2 separate regions of the Homo sapiens genome follow, and region 2 is linked to region 1. The links are contacts of gene promoters, found by promoter capture Hi-C in blood cells and fetal thymus (Javierre and others, 2016). All regions are on one chromosome and are shown on one strand. Each heading gives the region's core, a stretch centred on a gene start or on the middle of the fragment in contact. The rest is flanking DNA. Distances are from core to core; before and after follow the strand shown.

The links. Contacts are between HindIII fragments. The CHiCAGO score rates a contact against its expected background, and 5 or more counts as called.
Region 2: a fragment that was not itself captured here is called in contact with the fragment with the promoter of SLC3A1 in region 1 in 3 of 17 cell types (M2 macrophages, M0 macrophages and M1 macrophages); the score reaches 7.6 in M2 macrophages.

Annotation. Positions count from the first base shown.
Region 1 is chr2:44,274,043-44,276,791 of GRCh38, forward strand. It overlaps SLC3A1 (solute carrier family 3 member 1), which reads left to right and starts at 1,438. Exons shown (of 10, transcript NM_000341.4): 1 at 1,438-1,923. The coding sequence starts at 1,494. The HindIII fragment of the contact is 21,913 bases long and covers 1-2,749 here.
Region 2 is chr2:44,030,264-44,033,012 of GRCh38, forward strand. No RefSeq gene overlaps it. Among named protein-coding and RNA genes, the nearest start is that of LRPPRC, 36 kb to the left of the region's middle. The HindIII fragment of the contact is 164 bases long and covers 1,347-1,510 here.

The DNA of each region.
Region 1 (2,749 bases), core at 188-2,687:
ATCACCCAAGCTGGAGTGCAGTGGTGCTATCTCAGCTCATTGCAACTTCTGCCTCCTGGGTTCAAGCGATTCTCCTGCCTCAGCCTCCCAAGTAGCTGGAATTACAGCATATGTCCCCATGCCCAGCTATTTTTTTTTTTTTTTTTTTTGAGATGGAGTTTCACTCTTGTTGCCCAGGCTGGACCGCAATGGCGTGATCTCCATTCACCGCAACCTCCGCCTTCCAGGTTCAACCGATTCTCCTGCCTCAGCCTCCCAAGTAGCTGGGACTACAGGCATGCGCCACCACACCTGGCTAATTTTGTATTTTTAGTAGAGACGGGGTTTCTCCATGTTGGTCAGGCTGGTCTTGAACTCCCAACCTCAGGTGATTCACTGGCCTCGGCCTCCTAAAGTATTGAGATTACAGGCGTGAGCCACCGCGCCTGGCCTAATTTTTGTATTTTTAATAGAGATGGGTTTTGCCATGTTGGCCAGGCTGGTCTCCAATTCCTGACCTCAAGTGATCCACCCGCCTTGTCCTCCCAAAGTGTTGGGATTACAGGCGTGATCCACCATGCCCAGCCTTCATTCCTTTTCAAAGCTGAATAATATTTCACTATATGTATAACCACATTGTTTATCTATCCATCTGATGATAGCTACCTGGGTTGTTTCCAATTTTTAATTTTTTAATTTATTTTTAGTTTCATTTTATTTTTATTTTCTTTCTTATTTATTTATTTTATTTTTTGAGACAGAGTCTCCCTCTGTCACCCAGGGTGGAGTGCCATGGCTCGATGTCAGCTCACTGCAACCTCTGCCTCCTGGGTTCAAGTGATTCTCCTGCCTCAGCCTCCTGAGTAGCTGGGATTACAGGCATGCACCACCACGCCCGGCTAATTTTTGTATTTTTAGTAGAGACGGGGTTTCACCATGTTGGCCAGGCTGGTCTTAAACTCTTGACCTCGGGTGACCTGCCTGCCTCAGCCTCCCAAACTGCTGGGATTACAGGTGTGAGCCAAGATGCCCAGTGGAGATTTTTTTTTTTTTTGTGGGATGGATTCTCGCTCTTGTCGCCCAGGCTGGAGTGCAGTGGTACGATCTCGGCTCACTGCAACGTCTGTCTTCCGGGGTCAAACGATTCTCCTGCCTCAGCCTCCCGAGCAGCTGGGATTACAGGTGCACACCACCACGCCTGGCTAATTTTTATACCTTTAGTAGAGACGGGGTTTGGCCATGTTGGCCAGGCTAGTCTCAAACTCCTGCCCTTGGTGATCTGCCCGCCTCGGCCTCCCAAAGTGCTGGGATTACAGGCATGAACCACCGCGCCAGTCCCGAGATTTTTTTTTTAAACCTCTGTACTTTTACCCTTTCTTCCTTGGCTGGACTTTGTCCAGCTAGGTTTATTTATAAACCACACAAAGTTCATTAACAAGACCAAGCATTCAGCAAGCCACTCTTCCACCTCCCTTACTGCAGGAAGGCACTCCGAAGACATAAGTCGGTGAGACATGGCTGAAGATAAAAGCAAGAGAGACTCCATCGAGATGAGTATGAAGGGATGCCAGACAAACAACGGGTTTGTCCATAATGAAGACATTCTGGAGCAGACCCCGGATCCAGGAAGCTCAACAGACAACCTGAAGCACAGCACCAGGGGCATCCTTGGCTCCCAGGAGCCCGACTTCAAGGGCGTCCAGCCCTATGCGGGGATGCCCAAGGAGGTGCTGTTCCAGTTCTCTGGCCAGGCCCGCTACCGCATACCTCGGGAGATCCTCTTCTGGCTCACAGTGGCTTCTGTGCTGGTGCTCATCGCGGCCACCATAGCCATCATTGCCCTCTCTCCAAAGTGCCTAGACTGGTGGCAGGAGGGGCCCATGTACCAGATCTACCCAAGGTCTTTCAAGGACAGTAACAAGGATGGGAACGGAGATCTGAAAGGTACATGCCCAGAGATCATTTAGGGTGGGTGCCAGGATGAGATTGGTTTATGGTTCTTTTGTTCTTCAGAACCAAATTATGCCTGGGTTGTTCAGTAAGCACATTCCATTATGACTGGTCATGCCAAGTTGCTCCTTGTTTATGATATTCTTAGAAAATCACTCAGCAGAACCCAGCAGTTATTTTACTAGCTGAAGGGCTATTTGCTGAAGGCCTTTGAGCCAAACGAGTTGTTTAATTTATTGCCCACTAAGTACATACAGTTGTTCAGTCATCAATTCTAACTTCTTAGAGCAGCCTTCCTTCTAAAATCTATGTCCTGTTTCTGGGGACTTTATAGTTGAATATGTCAGGGTGGCAGTTGGGAATTGCTTTCCCAGTATACGAAGCAGCTAGTTTGGCTGTGTGGCTGGGAGTGTATTAGTGAATAAAGCATAAATAATATTTTTTTAAAAATCAAGTGATATCTGTAAAAAGTATAGGCTGAGTCTTAAAGTTTAAATTCTAAAAAAGGAAGGGAAGTAGAAAAGGGGTAGCAGTATGCATTCGTCATTACTTGAATTAAGGATTGTTTAAAACCATGTCCGTATTAGTATAAAACAAGTAAAGAATTAACCAGGGGTAGTGGCGCATGACTGTAGTTGCAGCTACTTGGGAGGCTGAGGTGGGAGGATCGCTTGAGCCCAGGAGCTCTCAGCCAGCCAGCTTAGGCAACATAGGGAGACCCCGTCTCCAAAAAGAAAAAAAAAAAAGTGAAAAATTATTTTTTAAAAGCTAAGTTAATTTCTTGGTGGGTTATGTGTAAAACATCCTTACAATATATTGC
Region 2 (2,749 bases), core at 179-2,678, 240 kb before region 1:
AGTGGCTGGCAGTATATAGATTTGGGGGAGTCAAGGATGACTCCAACCTGAGCAGCAGGGTGGTTGGTGAGTCTATTTTCCAAGCCATGGAACACTGGAAGAAGACACGGTTTGGGCTGAGATGGGAGAAATGATGAGCTCAATCTTGGACGTAAGTTTAAAGTTCCCATGAGGCATTTCAATGGAAGTGGGTAGTGGGTAACAGAGTCAGGATATCAGAAGCCATTTCCCAACTGGAGAAACATTAATTAATATGACAACTATTTTTTTTTTTGCATTTGCTATACTATACACCATACCTGCCACAGTCCTGATAAAGACACAGCAGTTAACAAAACAAAATTCCTATCTTTATTGACAAATAAGCGAATAGTACGTCAGATGGTGATAGAAAAACAAAGCAGAGAGAGGGGATAGGGAGAATTAGTAGGATATAGGTCTGAGATATAAGTTTAGAATTAGTTCCTTGGCTTCAAGAATTTGTGATAAATACAAATTCTGATGACCTTCAAGAAATGTCAGGATCCAGTCTCCAGTGGCAAGGTCCTTTCTATTTAAATCCATAACAGGGTCCACTCTGCTATTCGCCAGACTTCCCAGATCATAAGAATCACCCAGGAGGCAGAGGTTGCAGTGAGCTGAGATTGCCTCACTGCACTCCAGCCTGGGCAACACAGCCAGATTCTGTCTCAAAAAATAAACAAACAACAATAACAAAAAAACCTAAAGTGGCTTGGAAATTGCCACTTAGTGATTGGGAAGATTCCAGGAAATATTAATTTTTAAGAACATGGTTTATTCTCTTAGTTTCTTTGTCACAACCCCAAGTAATTTGGCAAAAAATTCTTCCTCCAGGCTAGATCCTATAGGTTGCAAGAGATGATATGCTAACTGCCCTCACAGAACTTACAGTTTAGTTGGGAGAAATGACTTCTGCACATGAAACCAAGAGCAGAGCTTAGATTTAAAATGAAAATAATCACACTTGGACATTGCTGGGTTGTCTCAGTTCCCAGGGGGATTACAATGAAGTGCACCCACTCCAGAACTAAAATGTATAGGACTGAATTGATGAGACTAGCCATCTAGAGAGAGACCCTTTAGTCTGAAGATGGGTGGCCAAACACTGTCAGATACCCTCAGCCTGAAACAGAATCCCCAGAAAAACATTGGGATGGATGGAGCCAATCAGAAAACAACAACAAAAAGAAAAGCAGTGATTTTCCTGGAATCTGGAAAATGGCATGAGGAGAATGGAGGATATACAAGATAAATAAATTCTTACCAAGTGTCTACCAAAGGCCAGGTTTGGGACTACTAGGCAACTGATGTTTCAACCCACGACAAGCTTGTGAGGCTGATTGTGCCTTTCTGCTTTATAGATGAGGAAGCCACCTCAGAAAAATTTAGTAGCTAACCCAAAATAAAGAAATTGCTTAAAGTCTATTTGACTTCAAATGCCAAGGATAACTAGGTAAGATTAACTCAAAGACAAATTTTTAAAGCTACAAGCTTTTTGTCTATGATAGTTTCTCTCTTTCTCTCCTCCCACCCTCAGACTCTTTTAAATATTTTTATTATTTATTTATTTATTTATTGATTTATTTATTTATTTAGAGACAGAGTCTTGCTCTTTCGCCCAGGCTAGAGTGCAGTGGCGATCTCGGCTCACTGCAAATCTACCCCCCAGGTTCAAGCGATTCTCCTGCCTCAGCCTCCCAAATAGCTGGGATTACAGGCGCCCGCCACCACACCCGGCTGATTTTTGTATTTTTAGTAGAGACGGGGTTTCACCGTGTTAGCCAGGATGGTCTTGATCTCCTGACCTCGTAGTCTGCCTGCCTCAGCCTCCCAAAGTGCTAGGATTACAGGCATGAGCCACTGCACCCGGCATATTTATTTATTTATTTATTTTTGAGACAGAGTCTTGTTCTGTCGCCCAGACTGGAGTGCAGTGGCACATTCTTGGTTCACTGCAACCTCCACCTCCCGGCTTCAAAGGATTCTCACGCCCCAGACTCCTGAGTAGTTGGGACTACAGGTGTGCACCACCACGCCCGGCTAATTTTTGTATTTTTAGTAGAGACAGGATTTCTTCCTGTTGGCCAGACTGGTCTCAAACTCCTGACCTCAAGCGATCAGCCTGCCTTGGCCTCCCAAAGTGCTGGGATTATAGGCGTGAATCACCATGCCCAGTCTCCTTTAAATATTCTTGATACTCCTATAGTGTCTGTTGACACGCATGCACTGGCTGTGGGAGCAATTCGGAGCTAGGACATGCAGCAGTTTCTCCGCCAGCTGAGTTGACAGCCTGGTGGACACACTTTTCCCACTTGTTTTTGTGGGACCAGTAGCTGTCAGAGACCTCCACCTCAAAAGCGTGACTTCTCCTGTCATAGGGTAAGGCTGCCAGGAGTCAGATTTTGAGATGAAGTTTAGCAGTGAGTTGATTGATTAAGGAGTGCTCTCATGATCAGTATTTACAGAAAGAAGGAGAAGAAACTGGGATTGGGTAGAAGTCGAGTTGTAATGCCATCCCAACAAAGGCCTCAGTTGATGCCACGGGGAACTCTTTAAGCACTAGGATGACCTCTCAGAGTTGTCCCAACTTAGGCTGATCTTAATACCCCACACTGATAAAAAAAAATCCTGGCAGGAAGTGTGACCTCAGGAGAGGCAATTTTGTTCACGCAAGTGCAATCTTCCTAGGGGACTAACAGCCGACGGCCAAGTTCCAGTAGCACTGCCA